Regions from separate parts of the Homo sapiens genome. Here all the other regions are linked to region 1. The links are contacts of gene promoters, found by promoter capture Hi-C in blood cells and fetal thymus (Javierre and others, 2016). All regions are on one chromosome and are shown on one strand. The core of a region is centred on a gene start or on the middle of the fragment in contact, and the rest is flanking DNA. Distances in the headings are between cores, read along the strand shown.

What was found. Contacts are between HindIII fragments. The CHiCAGO score rates a contact against its expected background, and 5 or more counts as called.
Region 2: a contact is called between a fragment that was not itself captured here and the fragment with the promoter of USP29 in region 1, in 1 of 17 cell types (activated CD4 T cells). The highest score is 5.6, in activated CD4 T cells.
Region 3: the fragment with the promoter of GALP here is called in contact with the fragment with the promoter of USP29 in region 1 in 1 of 17 cell types (total CD4 T cells); the score reaches 5.0 in total CD4 T cells.
Region 4: a contact is called between a fragment that was not itself captured here and the fragment with the promoter of USP29 in region 1, in 2 of 17 cell types (activated CD4 T cells and erythroblasts). The highest score is 9.5, in activated CD4 T cells.
Region 5: the fragment with the promoter of ZNF582 here is called in contact with the fragment with the promoter of USP29 in region 1 in 6 of 17 cell types (fetal thymus, erythroblasts, naive CD8 T cells and 3 more); the score reaches 7.4 in fetal thymus.

What each region holds. Positions count from the first base shown.
Region 1 is chr19:57,118,130-57,122,882 of GRCh38, forward strand. USP29 (ubiquitin specific peptidase 29) reads left to right here and starts at 1,856. Exons shown (of 4, transcript NM_020903.3): 1 at 1,856-2,100; 2 at 4,196-4,345. The HindIII fragment of the contact is 8,956 bases long and covers 1-4,753 here.
Region 2 is chr19:58,047,310-58,052,252 of GRCh38, forward strand. All of the region lies in intron 4 of ZSCAN1 (zinc finger and SCAN domain containing 1), which reads left to right. It also overlaps the pseudogene LETM1P2 and the pseudogene HNRNPDLP4. Among named protein-coding and RNA genes, the nearest start is that of ZNF135, 9.5 kb to the right of the region's middle. The HindIII fragment of the contact is 1,070 bases long and covers 780-1,849 here.
Region 3 is chr19:56,173,072-56,177,694 of GRCh38, forward strand. GALP (galanin like peptide) reads left to right here and starts at 2,937. Exons shown (of 6, transcript NM_033106.4): 1 at 2,937-2,991; 2 at 3,999-4,124. The coding sequence starts at 4,038. RefSeq lists enhancers at 2,072-2,622, 2,623-3,173. The HindIII fragment of the contact is 6,092 bases long and covers 1,231-4,623 here.
Region 4 is chr19:58,069,964-58,074,791 of GRCh38, forward strand. It overlaps the pseudogene RN7SL526P. Among named protein-coding and RNA genes, the nearest start is that of ZNF135, 13 kb to the left of the region's middle. The HindIII fragment of the contact is 1,092 bases long and covers 2,865-3,956 here.
Region 5 is chr19:56,391,496-56,395,738 of GRCh38, forward strand. ZNF582 (zinc finger protein 582) reads right to left here and starts at 2,039. Exons shown (of 5, transcript NM_001320371.4): 1 at 1,725-2,039; 2 at 249-337. The coding sequence starts at 257. ZNF582-DT (ZNF582 divergent transcript) reads left to right here and starts at 2,181. Exons shown (of 2, transcript NR_037160.1): 1 at 2,181-2,558. The HindIII fragment of the contact is 9,401 bases long and covers 1-4,243 here.

The DNA of each region.
Region 1 (4,753 bases), core at 606-3,105:
GTATTATGTTAATTCTCACAATAATCCTTTGGAACTAGTACGATCACCATCCCTGCCTTATTGAGGAGGAAATGGGGTACAGAGAGCTTAAGCAACTTGCCAGTGTCATGCAGCAGGGAAGCGCTGGAGGCAGGGCTCCAACCCACGCAGCCTTGCTGCATGTTTGTGGAATGAACACAGGACTCAGGCACACAACCATCTGGCTGAGGCTCCATGAGCAGCCAGGAGCCTGGTCCCAATGCAGTCTCCTTATAGGCACAAATGGGGTGCCCCTTGAGACAGGAATAATAAAGGTGGTCACAGGAGAACGGAAAATTCCAGGCAACAGTTTCACATGACTAGCAAAGGAAACCGTTGAAATCGCTGCGTAAGCTAGGGGCGGATAAGACTCTGAAAACCAGGGTGTGGGCCAAGCTGGCTAAAGCCGACTGGACCCAACATGGTGCTGGATTCGACCCGTTTCACCTAGGACCTCTCATTATGTGCTCATTAACATACTAAGTCACACACCCACTGTGACAGCTCTGGGGAACACCCGTATTTAGTATAAAAATGTGTGGCACCGCAGTACCAAGAAATGTTTACCTTTTTCCAAGAATCTTCATGAATATTCCACCCCTTGGTTAAATAAATATTTAAAGGTAGCTCCAAACCCCGCTGGGCGTGATGCTCTGTGGTATGCCTGCACTTTTCTTTCTTCAGTACGTACTTATTCCCGTCGCAATGAATCTCCACACTTTGTTCTGCTCATCCATGAATTCCTTCTCACGACAGTGTCAAGAGCCTGGACACCAGTCAGGGTCGAGGCCTCACCAGCATCTTGGGGCCTCACTGGGCACAGACGCGTGAGCGCCCGGCCTGCAGACCTGACTCTGGCAGCCGCTCAGGCCCTCAGAGGGAGAGATGGAAGCTGGCAGGACGCAGTTGCTACCGCGCGGACCCGGCCCCCGACCAGCCTTGGCCCCTCGCGCGCCGGGACAGGGCCACAAATGACTGCACCTGGGCTTCGCTGGCCCAGGCACCACGCGACTCTAAGCGCGCCCAAAGCGACCCTCTGCGCAAACTACCCCCGGGGACGACGTCACCCGTGAGGTCCCGCGGCGCCTCCTCCTAAAGCTCGGCTGGGAAACCGTCCGCTTCCCCAAGACTTGGGGGCTTGTGGCCGAGTTGTTTTAGTTTTCCTGTAGGATTCACGGGTGGCTGAGGCAAACACGCTTGAAGGCCTAAGACTTTTAAGTCTCTTCCGCACCCTCTCTTCTGTCTCTTCCACCTGGAGGATGACCGCTTTTTTGGGGGTTTTGTTGTTGTTTTGAGACGGAGTCTCGCTCTGTCGCCCAGGCTGGATTGTAGTGGCGCCATCTCCGCTCACTGCAACCTCCGCCTCCCGGGTTCAAGCGATTCTCCTGCCTCAGCCTCCCGAGTAGCTGGGATTACAGGCGCCCACCACCATGCCCGGCTGATTTTTGTATTTTTAGTAGAGACGGGGTTTCGCCACGTTGGTCAGGCTAATATCAAACTCCTGACCTCAGGTGATCCGCCCTCCTCGGCCTCCCAAAGTGCTGGGATGACAGGCGTGAGCCACCGCGCCCGGCCGGGATGACTGTTATTAACAATTCCCGGCGTGGTTTCTAGCACCAGCCCACCTACCACACCCCACCTCGCTTGAGGCTGAATGGGTAACAGGATGAACCCGCCCCTGGGCTGGTTTTCTCTGAACCCTAACTCCTGCCGTTACGCCCCACCAGCTCTAGGCCAGGAACTCTATGTGCCCCGGCCACGCTAGAGCCCGTACCTAGACCCGTAGGTCGGGAGGCCTGCGCCCGGCACTGCGCAGACGCAGCGTGCTGTGCCCAGAACTCTTCTGTTCCCAGGAGAATCAGGGGAGTCGGCGCCGGAAGGGGCGGGTCCGAGCTGAGATTTCCAGAGCCATGGGAGCCGGAAGTCCAAGGAACTGTACCTCCATCATGACGACTCCGGTTACGTAAAAACATTCAAACAGAAAATGCTGGCCAGGCTCATGCCTGTAATCCCAGCACTTTGGGAGGCCGAGGCGGGAGGATCGCTTGTGCCCAGGAGTTGGAGACCAGCCTGGGCAACATAGTGAGACCCTCCCCCCACCCATCTCTACAAAAAATTTTAAAATTAGCTAGCTGAGATCATGCCACTGCACTCCAGCCTGGACAACAAAGTGAGACTATGTCTCAAAAAAATTTAAAAATTACCCACGCCTGTAGTGTCAGATAGTCAGGAGGCAGAGGTTGGAGGATGACTTGAGCCTTGGGGATCGAGGGTGTAGTGAGGTATGATCGCACCACTGCACTCCAGCCTGGGCAACAGAGCAAGACCCTGTCTCAAAAACTATATAAAAGAAAAAAGGGCTGGGTCGGTGGCTCACGCCTGTCATGCCAGCACTTTGGGAGGCCGAGGCGGGTAGATCACCTGAGGTCAGGAGTTTGAGACCAGCCTGACCAACAAGGTGAAACCCTGTCTCTACTAAAAATACAAAAATTAGCTGGCCATGATGGTGGGTGCCTGTAATCCCAGCTACTGGGGAGGCTGAGGCAGGAGAATCACTTGAACCCCAGAGGTGGAGGTTGCAGTGAGCCGAGATCACACCACTGCACTCCAGCCTGGGCGACAGAGCGAGAGACTCCGTCTCAAAAAAAAAAAAAAAAAAAAAAAAACAGAAAAAAGGCCGGGCACGGTGGCTCACTCCTGTAATTCCAGAACTTTGGGAGGCCAAGGCGGGCGGATCAGGAGTTCGAGACTGCCTGGGCAACATAGCGAAACCCCGTCTCTACTAAAAATACAAAAAATTAGCCAGGCGTGGTGGCGGGCTCCTGTAATCCCAGCTACTCAGGAGGCTTAGGCAGGAGAATCACTTGAACCCAGGAAGCAGAGGCTGCAGTGAGCCGAGATCACGCCATTAAACTCCAGCCTCGGTGACAGAGTGAGACTCCATCCCCGCTCCGCTCCCTCACCTCCCGCCAAAAAAAAAAAAGAAAATGCACTGCAATAGAAAAATAAAAGTACTACACTTTGGTCAAACAGGGTAACTACTAGAACGTAAAATGATCTTTTTGAAACTATCCACATTTGTTACACGTGTTGAAAATGTAGGATATATATGTTATATATATACTTATATATGTTATATATACTTATATATGTTATATACTTATATATGTTATGTACTTATATATTATATATACTTATATATGTTATATCTACTTATGTTATATACTTATATATGTTATATATACTTATATATGTTATACATACTTATATGTTATATATACTTATGTTATATACTTATATATGTTATATATACTTATACATGTTATACATACTTATATGTTATATATACTTATATATGTTATATATACTTATATATGCTATATATACTTATATATGCTATGTATACTTATATATGTTATATATATACTTATATGTATGTTATATATACTTATATATGTTATATATGCTTATATGTATGTTATATATGCTTATATGTTATATATACTTACATATGTTATATATACTTACATATGTTATATGTACTTACATATGTTATATATATACATATATGTTATATATATATAATTATATATATATAAAACAAAAAGCACGGTTACTACAAAGAAAACAGGTAAACATTAAGTGGAGTAAAAGTATATCCTGTTATATAAGGGACTTGAACATGTCTGGGCATGGTGGCTCAAGCCTGTAATCCCAGCACTTTGGGAGGCTGAGGCGGGTGGATTACTGGAGGTCAGGAGTTCGAGACCTGGGCAACATAGCAAGACCTTGTCTCTATTAAAAAATAGATAGATAGATAGATAGATAGATACATAGAACATCAAAAGAGGGAGAGAGAAAGCAGACAGATGTGGCAAAATATACACAATTGGTAAATTTGGGTGAAGGGAATATAAGTTATTTCTACTAATCTTGCAATTCTTATGTATATTTGCAATGATTTCTAAATAAAAGTTTTTAATTACCAATTGAAATAAAGTAAAATAAGTCACTATCTAGCCTTTTCTAGACAAATATTTTAAACTCTTACACAGAGATAAGTTAATCAAGAAACGTATTTCCTGGAAAAACCCGTGATATGGGTGGAGCCACCTGGGAATAAAAGGTCGGAACATCATAATCACTGTCAGACTCAACTTCCATCATTCTCCTCCAGGCGCTATGGAGTCTAATCCAGGCACTTTGGAAGGCTGAGGCTGGAGGATCGATTGAGGCCAGGAGTTTGGGACCACCCTGGGCAACATAGCAAGATCTCATTTCTGAAAAAAGAATTATCATCCACTCACCCAGAACAGCTCTCCAAACTGTAAGTTTCATTCAAGGTTTGCTTGTTTGGGTGATGGGATGTGTGTGTGTGTGTGTGTGTGTGTGTGTGTGTGTGTGTGTGTATGTGTGTGTGAGTGTTGGAAGGAGGGTCTGTCTAAACTTAATGCCCTAAAGATATTGTCAGATATTGTGATGAGGGGAATTTCATCTTCTACCCTTTATGAGGTTGAATTGTAAATTCGAAAATCCTGATTCTGGGTTTTTATTTTGAGGGGATAGTTTTCTGTTTTCTGTGGCATTGGATATTGGCATTTTCAGAAAAGAGCATGCATCCAAAATGAAAATGATGAAGCCTACCTGTCTTTTGAACTCAGCTCAGGGAAAAGCTGATGATCTCTAATTTTTGTGATTCCTCCTTTCATTAAATTTAAGGTCCAGTGAGGGTGAA
Region 2 (4,943 bases), core at 65-2,564, 930 kb after region 1:
TCTGCCATCTCTGTGGCCTCTGGAGAGTGACGTCTCCCTGCTGGCAGGGCCGGTTCTCACCTGCAGTTTTCCTTGTGTATCGGAGCTCTTTCTTAACTTTCTATTTTCCCCCAATTCTTTAAGCAGTCGATTGGCACAGAGTTTTCCCACGCTGGTCGGCCTGCCCCAAGAGCCATCTCTGACCCAAGCCACGCAACTCTGACGTAGCCCTAGCCATGGGACTCCCTTGGGTGGTGCTTGGGCTGCGCGCCACGGGGGCTGCAGTGGATTTACTGTGTCAGGGATGAGCCTGGCTCGGGTTGGTGGGGCTCTGAAGCACATTTGGGGTTCTTTGTAGCTTCTAATGTGAGGTTTGAGTCCAGTGCACCCACAGCAGCATACCCTTCTCACCCCTTGTGGTGTTGCAGGCTCAGGCCCCTGGGGTCCTTTAACAAGCAGGCTGGTCACCGAGGCACGAAGACGAGGCACAGGGCATCCCCTGGGGCTTCAAGGGCAACACCCGCAGTGCTTAGGGTTTACCCTGTGCCCTCTGGGTGGGGTGGCCTCCCTGCACTCGGCAGCATGGTCGGGCTGGCGAGGGCGTGGGCAGGCAGTGTCCTGTGGCCACCTCCACCCTCCTGCCCAGCCGGCTGTGTCACACTCATATTTTTAAGGTCAGGTTGGTTCCTGGTAAAAATGTCCCTCCGGGGGCCTCCAAGCATAGGATTTGGAAGACATAGGAATGGCACAGGCAGCCAGGAAAGCAGCTGCGCTCAGACGATGCCTTCTCCATTACTTGAAGCTTCTTTTTGTTCAGCCATTAAAGAAACTTGACAAAATAGGAACAGGAGATATTTCTCAATTGTAAACCTTTGTGCAGGGACAGTTGGCTTCCAAAGCCTTTCAGATTTCAATTATTTGAGAAAGAAGTTTGTTTTAGATCCTTAATATTTATGAATTCTCAAAAAAAATCAATGTATAGACATTTTATAGCTTTAACCCTGCAAGTGTTTCAAGCTGTGTTTCTTAATTAGTATACTAACTGCCCTGGGGCATGTAGGTAAGTGTAAATGATGTGGTTTGAGCCAAGTTTTCATCTGTAATCCCACTGCTTGAGGTGGCCAAGGCCGGAGGATAAGCCAAGCCCAGGAGTTGGAGACCAGGCTGGACGATGGAGCGAGACCATGTTACTTTCTTTTTCTTTTTTCTGAGATGGAGTCTTGCTCTGTTGCCCAGGCTGGAGTGCCGTGGCATGATCTCGGCTCACTGCAACCTCCACCTCCTGGGTTCAAATGATTCTCCTGCCCCACAGACAAACGCCACTATGCCTGGCTAATTTTTGTACTTTTAGTAGAGATGGGGTTTCATTATGTTGGCCAGGCTGGTCTCGAATTCCTGACCTCAAGTGATCTACCTGCCTTGGCCTCCCAAAGTGCCAGGATGATGGCGTGAGCCACCGAGGCCGGCCCTTTTTACCTTTTTTTGAGACGGGGTCTCACTCTGTCACCCAGACTGGAGTGCAGTAGCACAGTTATAGCTCACTGCAGCCTTGACCACCGAGGCTCAAGTGATCCTCCCATCTCAGCTAGAATTACAGGCTTGAGCCACAGTGCCTGGTAATTTTCTAATTTTGTAGAGTTGGGACTTAGCTATGTTGCCTACACTGGTCTTGAACTCCTGTTCTCAAGCAATTCTCCAGCCTCAGCCTTAGCCTCCCAAAGTGGTGGGATTCTAGGTGTGAGCCACTGTGCCTGGCCTTTAAAATTTTCAATCTCCCCAAAGCCTCCAAAATATTCTTTAGTTAGTTCTTCAGAAGTAGCTGGGCTCAATCCACCCACGAAAACCTTTCGGGGGGTTCTTTCCCTTTTCAAGCTTTGGCTCTTTGCAGCAGGGGTGGGGGGTGATCCTATCAATTTGCCATCCAGCTCCTGTTCTTTCCGTTCCAAGGCCTTAAGAGCACTAGCAGCGTTTTCCAAAAGCACAGATACAAATCCCCTTGATCTTCCAGTAACTGTTTTAACTGTGCAATCTGCAACTTCCCTAAGTCAAGACACATCGTCAGATCTTTTTGCTTGTAACACTGTACCATCATCCGGCAGATCTTGGATCCCTCTGCGATTTCCTCTGTATTGGTTGTGGTACTCATTCAGGTCTTTGCTGGTGGAGAAGTTGTAGGCGGGGGGTGCTGGTGCACATTCAGGGTCAGGCAGCAGCTTATGCTACGGAGTTGGATTTCAAATGGTGGTGGAAGAGAGTCATTATAATTTTACGAGATCACTGTGGTGTGTGTGGTCCATTGTTGACTGAAACACCATTACCCCATGGGGAGGGGCTGCCTGAAGCCTGTAAGGGTAGCTGCCCGAAGCCCTTTGAGGGTAGCACTCTAAGGTCCCTGAGATCCCATGGGCGTATCTCCCTGAGGCCCTGGCGGGAATGACTGTTGGAACCTCAGTGGTAAGTGATGCCAGTGTCCTCTGTGGAACACACTGCTGGGGTCCCTGGTGGTTCCCACCGCGTAGCTGATACTCGTGGCCCCTGCTTTTCTTCTTTGTGCATAGCGATCTCCTGGCATCTCAGGTATGCATTATCTCACCGGTGAGCTTTTTCTTGTGGGCATTCTCGGGTTTTTTCACTTTACTCCACTGTGTTGCTGCAGATCTTCAATGGGTCCTTGAGCGTTCTGGGCTATTCTGGCTTGTGAATATCTGTCTGTAGTTGATTTGTGTGTGGGTAGTGGGAGGGGGAAATGAAGGTTGGTATCTCCTACTCCACCATCTTGGTGATGTCGCTCCACTCTTTCCTTTTTTTTTTTTCCAAAATAACCCAGCACCATTGCCCCAACTAAAACCATTAAGATAATTCCTGGCCGGACACGGTGGTTCATGCCTGTAATCCCAGCACTTTGGGAGGCCGAGGTGGGTGGATCACTAGAGGTCAGGAGTTCAGGACCAGGCTGGCCAGCATGGTGAAGCCTCGTCTCTACCAAAAAATACAAAAATTAGCTGGGTGTGGTGGCACGTGCCTATAGTCCCAGCTACTCGGGAGGCTGAGGCATAAGAATCGCTTGAACCCAGCGGGTGGAGGTTGCAGTAAGCCAAGATTGCGCCACTGCACTCCAGCCTGGGCGAAAGAGTGAGACCCTGTCTCTAAATAAATAAATAAAATAGAGCTATTAAGATAATTCCTCAACAACAGTAAGTTGCCAGGCATTCATATTTCCTCCTTTATTCTTGTTTCATTTTGTTTTGTTTGAGACGGCGTCTCGCTCTGTCGCCAGGCTGCAGTGCAGTGGTGCAATCTCAGCTCACTGCAACCTCCGCCTCCTGGGTTCAAACGATTCTCCTGCCTCAGCCTCCCGAGTAGCTGGGACTACAGGTGCACGCCACCACACTCAGCTAATTTTTGTATTTTTAGTAGAGATGGGGTTTCACCATGTTGGCCTAGATGGTCTCGATATCCTGACCTCTTCATCCTCCCGCTTCTGCCTCCCAAAGTGCTGGGATTACAGGCGTGAGCCACCACGCCTGGCCCCTTATTCTTGTTTTCTTTTTCTTGGTTGCTTGGTTTGCATCAGGACTCTCCCAGGGTGTGACATGCATCTCCCTCCCGCCTCCAATCTCCCCACCTGTCATCCCTGAAACAATAAACCTGGGTCCACCTCTGGAAGGATAAGAACCCAGATCTGTGGCCAGTGGCTCACCGGGGCTATGGGGATGTGTTTGCATTTGAAGGTACAGATAGGGCCCCGGGAATGTCTTGGTTTCTGTGCCTGACCCAAGTGTGTCGATAGCTCCTCTGATGCCCCCTGAGAGTCAGGGGAACTAAGCATGCCCCTCTCTCCACACATACATGCCACCCACTCTTCTCTCCACGCAGCCCCTCTGCTGCCCTTGATTAGTCACAGACGCCAAGGTGGGTGAAGTAGGGAAGAGCCTGACTGTCCACAATGGCCCCCAGTAGCCAGGTACCAGGAAGAGGCGTAAAAGGGAGTCCCGCCTTTACTCCTATAGATGGTGGCTCCTCTGGTTACGATTTCAGAATTCAACATGTTTTACAATCAAAACTAGCATTTGATAAGAAATAAAAATCAATAACCCAGCCAAACACACCATCCACATACTCCCAACGTGAGAGCAGGAAGAATCTTGTGCCTTAACTCCCTTCCTGCCATCAGCTCCCTCCCTCCCTCCCTCCCTCCTCCGTCTCTAGCCCAGCAATCCCTCTACTCCAGTTTTGCCCAGCTATTGGGAATCTTGGACAGCTTCCTTAGGCCCCTGTGCATCCAGGTAGGGTTGGGGCAGCAGAAAGCGAAGACCCACTCAAGACAGACCTTGTCAGTGCGTGCTTGACTCCTGGTCTTTTCTGATGCTTTGTTTGACTCAACATACCTCCTCCAACAACCTGATTTGCATTGATAAGTGTCACTGTGTTTTCCTTTGACACGACTCCGTTGCAGTTTGCCGAGCCCTTGATGGTACCAGGCTCTGGGCACGTAGCACCCACATCCTCACTGGAAACCCAGAGAGCTAAAGCTCCTCATCCAGGGCCACACAACAAGCAGGGCTGGAGCCTGGACACCAAGCCAAGCCCCTCTGTTTCGAATTCTTGCTCTTCAACCACAGCTCAGTCTCCTCCCAGGAAGTGGTGATCCCCGCTTTGGGCGGGACACGGTTAGGTGCATCAGAGGTCATAGGTCGCAGGTGGGATGTGAAGTCTGTGAAGTCGCCCACTTCCTCTGGGCTTGTGGGCAAGGACAGTGCAGCCTTGGGGGACGGGAGTTAGGAGCCCCAGCTTGTAACAGTGACCCGAGCTGTGGCACAGGTCCCCTGGCTCCATCTAATGCTCTGTTGTCACTGTCCTGAAATGATCAACGATCTTTGAACAAGGGGATTTGCATTTCCATTTTGTACAGGGGCCCCTCGAATTCTGTCTCAGGTCCTGTTAAGAGCTCTTTAGGAGTGGTT
Region 3 (4,623 bases), core at 1,687-4,186, 940 kb before region 1:
CGCTTGAGGTCAGTAGTTCCAGACCAGTCTGGCTAACATGGTGAAACCGTGTCTCTACTAAAAATACAAAAATCAGCTGGATGTGGCGGCACACGCCTGTAGTTCCAGCTACTTGGGAGGCTGAGGCAGGAGTATCGCTTGAACCTGGGAGGCAGAGGTTGCAGTGAGACTCCATCTTAAAAATAAACAAATAAATAAAAGAGCAAGGAAGCTTTGTTTTTAGTTTCTTTTCAGAAGTTCCCCAGCAAATGTCTTTTCTACTCTCCCTGGCTGGAATGGATTGTACACAGGAACCTGGTACATGTGGGCGCCAAGGTACCTACCCACACTGAAGGAAAGAGAGAGGGAAGGATCTGTTCAGATCCCAGTCTCCTTCTCACCCCTAGGCCAGGCATAGAGTCCACACCCTCATGGCATGTGGGGCGCCTGGAGGAGCTGCAGGCATTTAACTAAAAGCCAGCCAGATTCATCTCCAGCCAGAGCCAGGTGGATGCTGGGTCAGAAACTGCAGCGTCCTCTGAAGGAAAGGGTGCTCGTGTCTGTAGCTTGCATTTACTAAGAGGGACACAGACTCAGTTACAGAAATGAGAAGAAAGATGGCCGGGTGAGGTGGCTCACACCTGTAATACCAGCATTTTGGGAGGCCGAGGAGGGCAAATCACCTGAGGTCAGGAATTCGAGACCAGTCTGAACAACATGGTGAAACCCCATCTCTACTAAAAATACAAAATTAGCCAGGCTTGGTGGCACACACCTGTAGTCCTAGCTACTGGGGAGGCTGAGGCAGGAGTATTGCTTGAACCCAGGAGGTGGAGGCTACAGTGACAAGAGATTGTGCCACTGCACTCCAGCCTGGGTGACGGAGTGAGACTCCATCTCAATAAAAAAAAAAAAAAGAAAGAAATGAGAAGAAAGTGACATTGTGACATTTCTTGCACCACATTTGAGTTTTGCGTGTGTGTGTGTGTGTGTGTGTGTGTGTGTGTGTGTAAGAGAGATAGAGCAAGCTTTGGACCTACCCCGTTTACTTTTCACAAACTAGCTAATGGGCAGTGAGGCAAGGACTTCCCACTGTTTCTCTGACCCTCCATTGGGCTCCAGGTAACCCAGCTTCAAGCTCTCAGCGTCGCCTCCTCAGTCCTGTCTCCCGTGCAGTGGGCGTCACTCCCTCCTCCTTTCTCCTTCCCAGCAAAGCCATTCACACCTTCTTGTCAGTTTGTCTTCTATAAAAGCTTCCCCCTCCTCCTCCTCCCCTGCCCACTCCTCCTCCTCCTCCTCCTCCTCCTCCTCGTTGTTGTCATCCTCTGGATGAGAAGTGAGGGACTTGGAGAAACAGCGGAGGGGGCTCAGGAGCCCACCAGGGTGTCTGTAATCCCCCACGTCGTCTTCTCACTCCATCCCTCTCCTGGGGTCTCCCTTTCCCCTTGGGATGAGAAAGGATGGGGTAAGGGCTGATGGGGATGTGTAAAGACAGGACAGAGATACAAGTGCCAGCCACAAACCGACAGAATGCTGGAAGGACCTTGGAGGCAATGTGTCCTCCACGGTGGAGAGGAGGAGACAGAACCCAGCCAGGACCAGGGCGTCCCCTCTGTCCCTTAGACAGCAAAGGGCAACAGCAAGAGTAAAACCTCTTCCAAGGTTCTTTCCTCTGGAAAGCAGGTGACGTCAGGGCAAAGAGAGAGCGTGCTGCAGAGACAGATAGATCAACACACATGACAGGAGAGAGACGCAGCAACGACACACTCCTTATTCGTTCACCCAACAAGTATTGAGTGAGCTCCGGGCACTGTTTTAGGGGCTGCTGTGAGGTTTCTCATCTTTGGAGCTATTGACTTTCGGGGCTGGGTCCTTCCCATCGGGGAGGCCTTTCCTGAGCACTGTGGGAGGCTGAGCCGCGTCCCTGGCTTCCACCCACGAGATGCCGGGAGTCCCTCCCAAGTCCCAAGTAAAGATGTCTCCAGCCGGGCGCGGTGGCTCACGCCTGTAATCCCAGCACTTTGAGAGGCTGAGGCGGGAAGATCACGAGGTCAGGAGTTCAAGACTAGCCTGGCCAACATAGTAAAACTCCGTCTGTCTCTACTAAAAATACAAAAAATTAGCCGGGCGTGGTGGCGGGCGCCTGTCGTCCCAGCTACTCGGGAGGCTGAGGCAGGAGAATGGCGTGAACCCGGGAGGCACAGCTTGTAGTGAGCCGAGATCACAGCACTGCACTCCAGCCTGGGCGACAGTGCGAGACTCCGTCTCAAAACAAAAACAAAAAAAACGAACAAACAAAACTGTCTCCAGACTTGGTCACATGTCCTGGGGTGAGGCTGGGGCAGCATCGGGGCAGAGTCACTCCTGGTTGAGAGCTTCCGGCCTAGGGACGCAGCCATGAACAAGACACAGTTGACACCCCTCATGGGGTCTCCTTTAGCCAGGGTGGTAGGTGGGGGGCGGGGAGATAGACAGCTCACAAGTAAACAAATAAACAGGGTCTACCGTGCAAGACAGAAGAAATGCAACTCAGTGAGGGAGCTGCGGAGGCTTGGAGGGATTGATGGGGGCAGAGGGGACAGGGCTACGGAGACACCAGTGGCAGGTGGAGACAACCAAGGAAGACACAGGTCAAGGCCCAGACGCAGATAAGAGGGAGGGAGGGAGCCCTCGAATAGCTGCAAAGTCTGGAACAGGACAGCTGGAAGATAAAGGGGCACAGAAGGAGGGGGAAGGGCAGGGTCTACCAGGGGAAACCAAGGCACAGCAGCATTTCCCGCGATGAAGTGTGTGTTTTGACCTCACAGACCAGCGTTTGAAAGCCCCTGGAGTGGATGACTGTTCCCCCACCTCCATCCTCTTCACTCCCTCTCCCTTCTTCTAATCCCCTCCCTTTCCCCCCTCCCTTCTATTGTCTCCTCAGAAGGCATAAAAGCTCAGGGGGCGTGAAAGAGTCCAGGCGCTGGAGCGAGGAGCCAGAGAGAGCTGCGGAGAGCTGCCAGCTGCAGCGGGGTGAGAGCCTAGGCCAGGAGGGCAGAGGGGCGGATCCCAGCTGCACCGGGGTGAGAGCCTAGGCCAGGAGGGCACAGGGTCGGCTGCCAGCTGCAGCGGGGTGAGAGCCTAGGCCAGGAGGGCAGAGGGGCGGATGCCAGCTGCAGCGGGGTGAGAGCCTAGGCCAGGAGGGCACAGGGGCGGATGCCAGCTGCAGCGGGGTGAGAGCCTAGGCCAGGAGGGCAGAGGGGCGGATCCCAGCTGCACCGGGGTGAGAGCCTAGGCCAGGAGGGCAGAGGGGCGGATCCCAGCTGCACCGGGGTGAGAGCCTAGGCCAGGAGGGCAGAGGGGCGGATCCCAGCTGCACCGGGGTGAGAGCCTAGGCCAGGAGGGCAGAGGGGCGGATGCCAGCTGCAGCGGGGTGAGAGCCTAGGCCAGGAGGGCAGAGGGGCGGATCCCAGCTGCACGGGGGTGAGAGCCTAGGCCAGGAGGGCAGAGGGGCGGATGCCAGCTGCAGCGGGGTGAGAGCCTAGGCCAGGAGGGCAGAGGGGTGGATGCCAGCTGCACCGGGGTGAGAGCCTAGGCCAGGAGGGCAGAGGGGTGGATCCAAGCTGCACTGGGGTGAGAGCCTAGGCCAGGAGGGCAGAGGGGTGGAGGGAGTGAGGGGCTCCTGGGAGAGTGATGGGGGGCTTGAAGGGATGGGGATAACAGGAGAAACCCCAGCATTGGTGGCAGGGAAAAGGTGAGGGGCAGGTAAGGGGACGGAAAGGTTTGAAGATGGAGTGGTGGAGGCAGTGGGGCAGAAGGCATGGGCGCTGGGGGACCAGGTCGGCCTGATCCGATGATGGGGGAAGGAGAGGCTTAATTGCTTGCACACGTCCAAACTCCTCAAGATGTGTACATTAAATGTGCGCCATTTTTGTATCTCGATGATGCCTCCATAAAGCTAAAAAATAAATTCCTCTGTCCTTATCGGAAATGCACCTGGCCCCCGCTTCGGAAAATGACTGGCCGCTCTCTCCTTGCAGCGTGTTCCGCAGCTGTAGGCACCTGTCGTCCTGCCTTCGATGGCTCCTCCCTCCGTCCCCCTGGTCCTCCTCCTCGTCCTCTTGCTGAGCCTGGCAGAGACTCCAGCATCCGCACCTGCCCACCGGGTAACGCCTCCCTAAGTTCCTCGGAAACAACAGTGTCCCCAAATCCCTGCCCTCTGGGAAGAGTTTTTAAAAATGCTTCTGGCTTGTGTCAAGGGTCCTGGGGAAGAAGCTCAAATCCTGAAAATATGAGAAGAAATATTGCGTGTCTCTACTAAAAACACAAAAATTAGCCGGGCATGGTGGCACGTGCCTGTAGTCCCAGCTACTCAGGAGGCTGAGGCAGGAGAATCGCTTGAACCTGGCAGGCGGAGGTTGCAGCGAGCCGAGATTGTGCCACTGCACTCCAGCCTGGGTGACAGAGCGAGACTCCATCTCAAAAAAAAAAAAAAAAAAGAAGAAATGGGGTTTCACCATGTTGGCTAGGCTGGTCTTGAACTCCTGACCTCCTGGCTTCAAGTGATCCACCCGCCTTGGCCTCCCAAAGTACTGGGATCACAGGTGTCAGCCACGGCACCCAGTCTGGGACGACACTTTGAAAACCTTTGATCACACACCTCCA
Region 4 (4,828 bases), core at 2,161-4,660, 950 kb after region 1:
CGGAGAGCCAGGCATGGCTGCACCTGCCTCTAGTCCCAGCTGCTTGGGAGGTTGAGGCAGGAGGATCACTTGAACCCAGGAGTTCTGGGCTGTAGTGTGCTCTACTGATTGGGTGTCCACACTAAGTTTGGCATCAATATGATGACCTCCTGGGAGCAGATGACCACCAGCTTGCCTATGTAGGGGTGAACCAGAGCAGGTCAAAACTCCCATGCTGGTAGGGCTCACATCTGTAATCCCGGCACTTTGGGAGGCCAAGGTGGGCAGATCACCTGAGGTCAGGAGTTCAGGACCAGCCTGGCCAACATGGTGACACCCCGTCTCTACTGAAATTACAAAATTAGCTGGGCACGGTGGTGCATGCTTGTAATCTCAGCAATTTTGGAGGCTGAGGCAGTAGAATCACTTGAGCCTGGGAGGCGGAGGTTACAGTGAGCCTAGATTGTGCCAATGTACTCCAGCCTATGTGACAAGAGTAAAACTCAACCTCAAAAAAAAAAAAAAAACTCCCATGCTGATCATTAGTGGGATCGTGCCTATGAATAGCCACTGTGCTCCAGCCTGGGCAACACAGCGAGACACCATCTCTAAAAAATAAAAGCCACTGGAGAAAGCCAGGGTACACAGTGCATAGCAGCACTGTCTCATTGAAACAATGCAAGTCATATAAATAACTTTAAATATTCTGGTAGCCCCATTTAAAAAACAAGAAGAGGCCCAGGCACAGTGGCTCATGCCTGTAATCCCAGCACTTTGGGAGGCTGAGGTGGGCAGATCAGTTGAGGCCAGCCTGCCCAACATGGCGAAACCATGTCTCTGCTAAAAATACAAAAATTAGCTGGGTGCAGTGGCATGCACCTGTAATCCCAGCTACTCGGGAGGCTGAGGCACGAGAATTGCTTGAGCCTGGGAGGCGTCAGTGAGCCAAGATTGCACCACTGCACTCTAGCCTGGGTGACAGAGCAAGACTGTCTCAAAAAGAAAGAAAACGCAAGAAGAAACAGGTGAAACTAAAATTTACCCCTATATATCTCAAATGTTAGCAGTTTAACATACCAATATGAAAAATTATTGAGATATTTGCATTCTTTCTGTTACGTGACATCTTCAGAATCTAGTGTGCATCTTTTTTTTTTTTTTTTTTTTTGAGACGGAGCCTCCCTCTGTCACCCAGGCTGGAGTGCAATGGCACAATCTTGGCTCACTGCAACCTCCGCCTCCCGGGTTCAAGTGATTCTCCTACCTCAGCCTCCCGAGTACCTGGGACTACAGGCATGTGCCACCACGCCTGGCTAATTTTGTAGTTTTAGTAGAGATGGGGTTTCTCCATGTTGGTCAGGCTGGTCTCGAACTCCTGACCTCATGTGATCCGCCCGCCTCGGCCTCCCAGAGTGCTGGGATTACAGGCGTGAGCCACCACTCCCAGCCTAGTGTGCATCTTATACTTGCATCACATCTCAGAGTTGACCATAGCGACATTTCAAGTGCCCATTTGACACGTGCAGCTCAACAGTTTGGTCTTTGGTCAGCTGTTTTGTCCTCCTTCCCTTTACTACCTGTGTCCTCCTGCCTTTCCCTGTGTTCCTATCCTTGTGTAGCATCTTGTGCTCAAGGAAACCAAATGTGCTAGGAAGATCTGCTGCTTTAGGTAATTGGAATGACAGGTGCCTACTCATTTCAGGCTCCCTAGGATATTATTCTTATCACAGAACATTACATTCAGGAAAGAGATTATGGCCAGTCTATTCCAGTTCAGTTCAGTAAAAATGGAATCTGGCACATGCACTTTTGCAGTCCTTTGAAAGTGCTAGATTGGCATAATCACCAAGAAACGGTAATGTGAGTTCTTTCCTCTCCACTCAGCCCCTCTTCATCAGACCTCCTTCAGCGACACAGGGGAAATACAGCAAGGATTGGGTACTACAGAGAGGTGCCCACAGTATCACTTCTCTCCTAAGCCAGGGAAAGAGATGAGATTCCTCTCCCTGATGGTGCCAAGCCAGTGGAAGGGCACTGTGGGGGTTACACCCTCCTGAGTCTAGAGGACCTTGCTTACTACGCCTCAGTTATTGGCACACAAGTAGAAGATCAAGTGGGAAAACAGGTGAATGCAGGTGAAATAAGAATGAGGGAGAGTTCTGAGGCTAGTTCAGAAAAGGCCATACAGCGTCTGTCTTTTTTTGCTGGAACACTTGTGCTTGGAGCCCTGAGACACCACTTGAGAAACCCACTGGCCCAAGGCCACCATGCTGTGAGGATGAAGCCACACAGGCTCTGCTCAGGGTGTCAGTTCACTCCTAGTCTGAATCTCCCCAGCCTCATCAGGCCTGTGACAGAACAGTCTTCAGATGATTCCAGCCTCCCAGCTTTCAAGGTACCTCAGCCTTCAAGTTCCCAGCTGAGGCCCCACACATGGTGGAGCCGACCAAAGTCATAAAGTCATCCTTGAATGTGCCTTTTTTTTTTTTTTGAGACAGAGTCTAGCTCTGTTGCCCAGGCCGGAGTGCAATGGCATGATCAAGGCTCACTGCAGCCTCCACCTCCTGGGCTCAAGTAATTCTCCTGCCTCAGCCTCCCAAGTAGCTGTGATTACAGGTGTGTGCCACCGTGCCTGGCTAATTTTTGTATTTTTAGTAGAGACAAGGTTTCACCATGTTGGCCAGGCTGGTCTCAAACTCCTGACCTCAGGTGATCCACCCGCCTTGGTCTCCCAAAGTGCTGGGATTACAGGAGCAAGTCACTGCACCCAGCCTGAGGTCTGTTTTTTTAACTGTGCAGGCAGCCGCTCCACTCCACACTGCCTCTTGCTCCTCCTCTGGCCATGTGATATGTCTGCTCCTACTTCCCCTTCCACCATGAGTAAAAGCTTCCTGAGGCCTCCCCAGAAGCTGAGCAGATGCCAGTGCCCTGCTTCCTGTACAGCCTGCAGAACTATGAGCCTGTTAAACCTCTCTTTTTTATAAATTACTCAATCTCAGGCATTTCTTGATAGTAACACAAGAACGGCCTAACACAGTGAGCACAGTTTCTGGGTGTGCAGCCATGAGACTGAGAGGAAGGTCTGGTTCTTTAGCAAGGAAAGGTTCTGTCTCTTTCTGGATGCAAAGGGAGAAGTATGCTGCCTACCACCTGCAAGCACAGAGAGGACCATCCTGTACAGAGTCAACTCAGAGAAGACAGCAAAGCCCAAACTCATCTACAATTCAAGCAGGGGCCCCACCCTGGACCTTGCATCCTGGTCTTTCACAGCAAATAAATAATAACCTCAGCTGGGCGTGGTGGCTCATGCCTGTAATCCCAGCACTTTGGGAGGCTTGCTCGAACCCAGGAGTTCAAGACCAGCCTGGGCAACATAGTGAGACCCCATCTATACAACAGATAAAAAATTAGCCAGTCATGGTAGCGTGTGCCTGTACTCCCAGCTACGCAGTAGGCTAAGGCAGGACTATCACTTGAACCCAGGTATTTGAGGCTGCAGTGAGGTATGGTTTCACCACTGCACTCCAGACCATGTTTCTAAAAAAAAAAAAAGTAAATAATATCCTAAAGTGTATACAATTTTGAGTTGGATTTCTGGTGACTGGCAGCCAAAAATGCATCTTGAGTGGAAGAATCGTAGAAAGTAGAGAATTAAGTATCCTTTGGCTTCCCATTGTGTTTCTGAAAAAAAGTCAGGAAAGCTGGTGCGATGGTTTGGATATTTGTCCCCTCCAAATCTCATGTTGAAATGTGATCCCCAGTGTTGGAGGTGGGGCCTAGTGTGAGGTATGTGGGCTATGGGGTGGATCCCACATGAATGGCTTAGTGCTGTCCTCATGGTAATGAGTGAGTTCTCCCTTTATGAGTTCACCCAAGAGATGGTTATTTAAAGGAGCCTGGCACTTCCTCCCCTCTCTCTTGTTTTCTCTCTCACTATATGATGCACCAGCTCCCCTTTGCCTTCCGCCATGATTGGAAGCTTCCTGAGGCCTCCCCATAGTGCAGATGCCAGCACTATGCTTCCTGTACAGCCTGCAGAACCGTGAGCCAAATAAATCTCTTTTCTTTGTAAATTACCCATCCTCAGGTATTCCTTTATAGCCGTGTAAACAGACTAACACAGCCAGGGCCGTTGGAAGTTTTGTGGAAGCACTGGGTAGGACTGACGTGTGGTAGTCACTGTCCCTCCTGAGTCTCCTCTTATACTGTATGTGAGAGGGAGATTCTTTCAGGCAGCAAGTATTTTCCAAGCACCAACTATAGCTCAGGCACAATTCCAGACTCTGGCAACTAAACTGATGAAACTCGTGGTCTCAGGAGCTTATATTTTGGTGGGGAAATGGAAAATAGAGAAATTAGGATGTTATGGGCACATTACACAGTAAGTGTTATGTAGAAACAAAATGGTCCAAGAAGGGAAACCCCAGGCTGGGCGCAGTGGCTCAAGCCTGTAATCCCAGCACTTTGTGAGGCCAAGGCAGGCAGATTGCCTGAGGTCGAGAGTTCAAGACCAGCCTGGCCAACATGGAGAAACCCCGTCTCTACTAAAAACACAAAATTAGCCGGGCATGGTGGCACGTGCCTGTACTCCCAGCTACTAGGGAGGCTGAGGCAGGAGAATCTCTTGAAACCGGAAGGCAGAGGTTGAAGTGAGCCGAGTTCGCACAATTGCACTCCAGCCTGGGCAACAAGAGCGAAACTCCGCCTCAAAAAAAAAAAAAAAAAAGAAGAAGGGAAACCCCAAGTCCTCTGGACTTTTTTTTTTTTTTTTTTTTTTTTTTTTTTGAGGTAGGGTTTTGCTTTGTCACGAAGGCTGTAGCTTCAACCTCCTGGGCTCAAATGATCTATC
Region 5 (4,243 bases), core at 789-3,288, 730 kb before region 1:
GCTCTCATTTCATACAGGGAAATGAGTTTCTCCTCCTAGCAGACGAAAACCATCAGGAGATGCAGAATGCTATAGAGAATAAATCTGTGGGCATTTGTCAGAGGGGAGAGGACAATGGGAGAGGAGACTCCTGCCTGGTCCTTTTATTCCCTAAAATGGGAAAGTCTGAGAACCAAATTTCTGGATGGAACCCAGGTGGAAAGTTTCAAGATAAGGAAAGCAAATATTTATGGGATTTAAAAACTCACAAGGGACATGACTTTTAGAATTTCAAGGGCTGATAGGTCCTCCTTCTGGTTCCTCTCTTGGGGAAGGGCAGAGTCCTGCGACGGTAGAGCTGGGGGAGGAAAGAGCAAACATGAGAGGCTAGGCTTGCCTCACAGTTCCTAGAATGCCAAGTTACAAGTCCCCACCTGCTTGCCCTCTGCCCACCAAGAAAATGAGAAGGAGGGGGAGGCAAAGGGATCCTCACCCAACCCCAGGAAACCAGCTTTAGCTGCTGCAAGGCAAAGGGGAACCAGTGGTCCTTTCCCTCCCATTTCCCCTAAACATCCAGTGGTTCTGTTTTGCTGCAAATGCAAGTCTAAGACAGGGATGCTGAGGGCTGTTCTAGTGACTGAGACCCACATGTTACCTCAAGGACAAGGAGGGCTTCCCTCAAGCCAGGGAGCATAGAAGGCCTGCATCATTTGCATAGCCCCAGCCTAGAATAAAGCCTTTCCAGGACTAGGCCATTTAACTCTCTCCTGCAGCAAATATAACACCTTTGAAAGTCTACCTGGCTCTTTTCCCAACCGCCAAATATACAAAAAGCTCTACAGCCCAAACTGAGGCTTTGTGCATGCCACTTCATGGAGCATGCCTTGCATCAACAAATGGGATAGAGTTGGAAGGAACAGTAAGAGACAAATTACACACAGCACGCCCAGTGCTCCATTATCAGCACATAAATGTGTCCTTCCATAGAGACACAGCAGTGCACAAAGCTGCATGTCCAATAATATTTGCTAAATAGGAGAACTGAAAATTAGTACGTAAGTAGGCAAGTCCACAAGTAGCCAAGAGGTTGAATCATTTTTGGCACAGCCATATAATGGGATGCCAAGTGACTATCAAAAATGACTATCAAAAACTGACAAGCAAAGATATTAACTACTGAATCCTTTGAGAACATTCAGCAAAAAGAAGTCAAACTCACTAACACACAGGCTAAAAACAAAACAAAACAAAAAAATTGGAAGAAAAAACACCCAAGTATTCGCAGTGTTGTCATTTAACCAGTTCTTGAGCTCACTGTTAAACAAGAAGTACTCTGTAAAGGAGTATATAAGGTGCCTACTGCATTACAAACATTTGGTTCTAAGTAACGTGTAAGTGAAATAATTATGAATGTTGCTTAATATGATGTAATAGGCAGCTTTTCCTTATTATGACCACTTTTATAAGCATTATTTGTATTAACTGCACGATATCCTATTTACAAAGGATGGCCTGTGATCCACTCAAGTGTTTCCCCATTGCTGGACATAGAATTTGAACATATAAAATGTTCCCAAGTATAAGTTTTTCTAAACTAGCGGTTCTAAGTCTTCTGGGGTCTTGTAACTCTCTGAGAACCTCATGAAACAAGATTTCCTCTCAGATTAAAAAAAAAAAAAGGCACGCATAACAGTGAATGCAAAACATCCGCAATTTCAGGGGGTCGGAGACCCCTGCGCACCCACCTAAGGGGTCCATGCACCTGGGCTATGAGGCTGGAAGCAGAAAGGGGGCGCCAGAAAGCGCACGCCGCGAGGGCCGGCGGGAAATGTAGTCTCACGCCGGTAAAGCCACAGAGCGACGATGAGGCGAGACGTCTGCGTTCTTCTCAGGCCTGAGACCCAACCGGCCCGGGCACCAGCTCCTGCTGGACCCCAGAGCGCCTGGAAAGCTCCGGAACCTCTCACCTGCCGCCTCCTCGGGTCCAAGTGCCACCGCGGCCGCGCCCCCGGCAGCCCAGGGCGCGCTTCCACCACGGTACCGGTGGATTCGCCGTGCGCAGCCGGAAGATGGCGCAGACGCACAAAGCACACCGATGCTGCGCCATGATAGGGCCGGCGCCGCAGTGTCTTCCGGGAAACATAGTCTTTAGGCGTAAAGGCAGCAGCCCGGCCTTGAAGCCGGATCTCGCGATGTTTCAGGGTGAGCCGGACGCAGGCGTGCCTGCGCAGTGCGCGGAGGAGTGCTGTTCGTGTGTTCGAGTCCCTGGGTTGCTTCCTGGGGTCTGTGGTGCTGGGTGTGCTATCTGCGTGTGATTCTCTAGCGAGAGATTGTGGGCGAGTGACCGAGTGGGCAAGGGGCCGTCACTGTGTGTGCGTGATTTTGACAGTGTGTGGTGGTAGCTTCTGACTCCGCGTGGGTCGTTGAATGTATGACTGGGACCGTTTAGCGGTGGATACACAACTGTGTGCGGCTGTGGAAGATTGCCTCATCCGTTACGTTCCCATTTCCGTGGAACAACAGTTTTACCAGAAGGTTTCGAAGGAACCTTAAAGTTTGGAAGCGTAAGAGTTTATCTGGTAACTAATTTTAAACATTACATCTATGGTGAGTTAAATGTGGGTTATGAAGGAGAACGCAAAATAAAAACGTTATAAAGATGTAAAGGAGTTTTATGGGGCGGCATCTCTTGGGCAAATATCAGACCGCCGTAGGTAGTTGTTAATTCTCTCTTGTTTTTAGGCGGCTTTGGTGTCATCAAATGTGAGAAGCCCTGGACTTTACACATCCCGAGCCAGTGTGATCCAGTATGATTGGGAGTCCGAGTGCCAGATGCCGGTCAGGACCTGTTATGCTGGGTCTCAGAATGCGGAAACTCTCCCTGTCCGAGGTGGAACAGTTTGTCCTTGAGTGAGGACTGGAGTCCTGAGTGACTCTTTTGATTTGATCCTGTTTCCCTCAAACCTGGTGAGCTCTATGGTGTAATAAATGGTTAAGAGTGTGAACCCTTAACCATCTCTAAGACTGGAGCCAGAATGCCTGAACTCCAGTCTTAGAGATGTGCCTCGGTCTCCACATTTGAAAGTGAGGATGATTGTGGCATCTAATTCATTGAGTTGTTGGGGAGGAGTAACTGATATGTAAAATAATGCTACTGCTGCTGGATAAGGATGCTAATATGACTGAAGCTAATGCTTTCTTTCTGCAAAGATGCTTTTTCCAAAACACACCATATTGCCTCTTTACACATTCTTCAGGAGAGGGTAGAGGCTGCATTTTCCTTGTAGGTGCGGTGATGTGGTGGAAAGCACACTTTTAGAATTAGACAGATGTGGATTCAAATAGCATTTCAGCCATTTATTAGTTTCTTCGTGCCTATCTCGGTTTTGTTTTGTTTTTTTTTTTTTGTCCATAAAAGGAAGAATGTAATGCTGGGCTTGCAGCTTTGTCCTGAGGGTCAAATAAAATGATTTAATAATATAAGCAAAGCTCAGAGGTTGGTTATTGCTGATTACTGATATTAAAAGACAACTTCAGCAAGGATGGTTGAATTTCACACTTGTGAGCGGACAGTTGAGGAGACAGTTGTAGATTTATCCTACTTGACCTTATTTGTGGTTCAAGACAGTGTTGCGAGTTCAAGAGGAGAGGGTAGATGCAAAAAGTCATCATCTTTCCTATGTTCTCTGATCTTGGGAAGGGGCGAGTGGCTCTAGTTTCCCTTTAACATCCCACTGTGTTGAGTGTGTCTATATGTACATGCGTCAGTATTTGCTTATGGAGGAAAGGAAGGAAAAAGACCAAACAGGTACAAAGCCAGCCATCTCTCAGGCTAACTTTCTTCTATACCATTTTTACTTTCTCACATTCATTAATCTGCCAAAGAGAAATTTAGAGGATGATGAAATGGCCACTTCTGACTCTGAACCAAGCCTCTGAAGTCATACACCATTATACTCTTGGTCACAAAATCAGCTGTGAGTCTAAGTAGGTGGAGGCTACACAAGAGTATAAGTACTAGGAGGCAGGGATCATTCAGGGTCGTCTTAGAGGGTGGCTTCCAGTTTCTTCCTTTTAAGAGTATGAGAATGCTCTGAGCTAGCCTCTCCATTCCATGGAATCCATAGGTCTTTTGTCAGCCACTTCCCAGTACACATTCCTGTGCCAAAGCACATGCAGAGTTTGTAGGGTCCAGCCCCACAGGGTCGGTTGGTTTCTCCCCGTGTGCGGAGACGAGAGATTGTAGAAATAAAGACGCAAGACA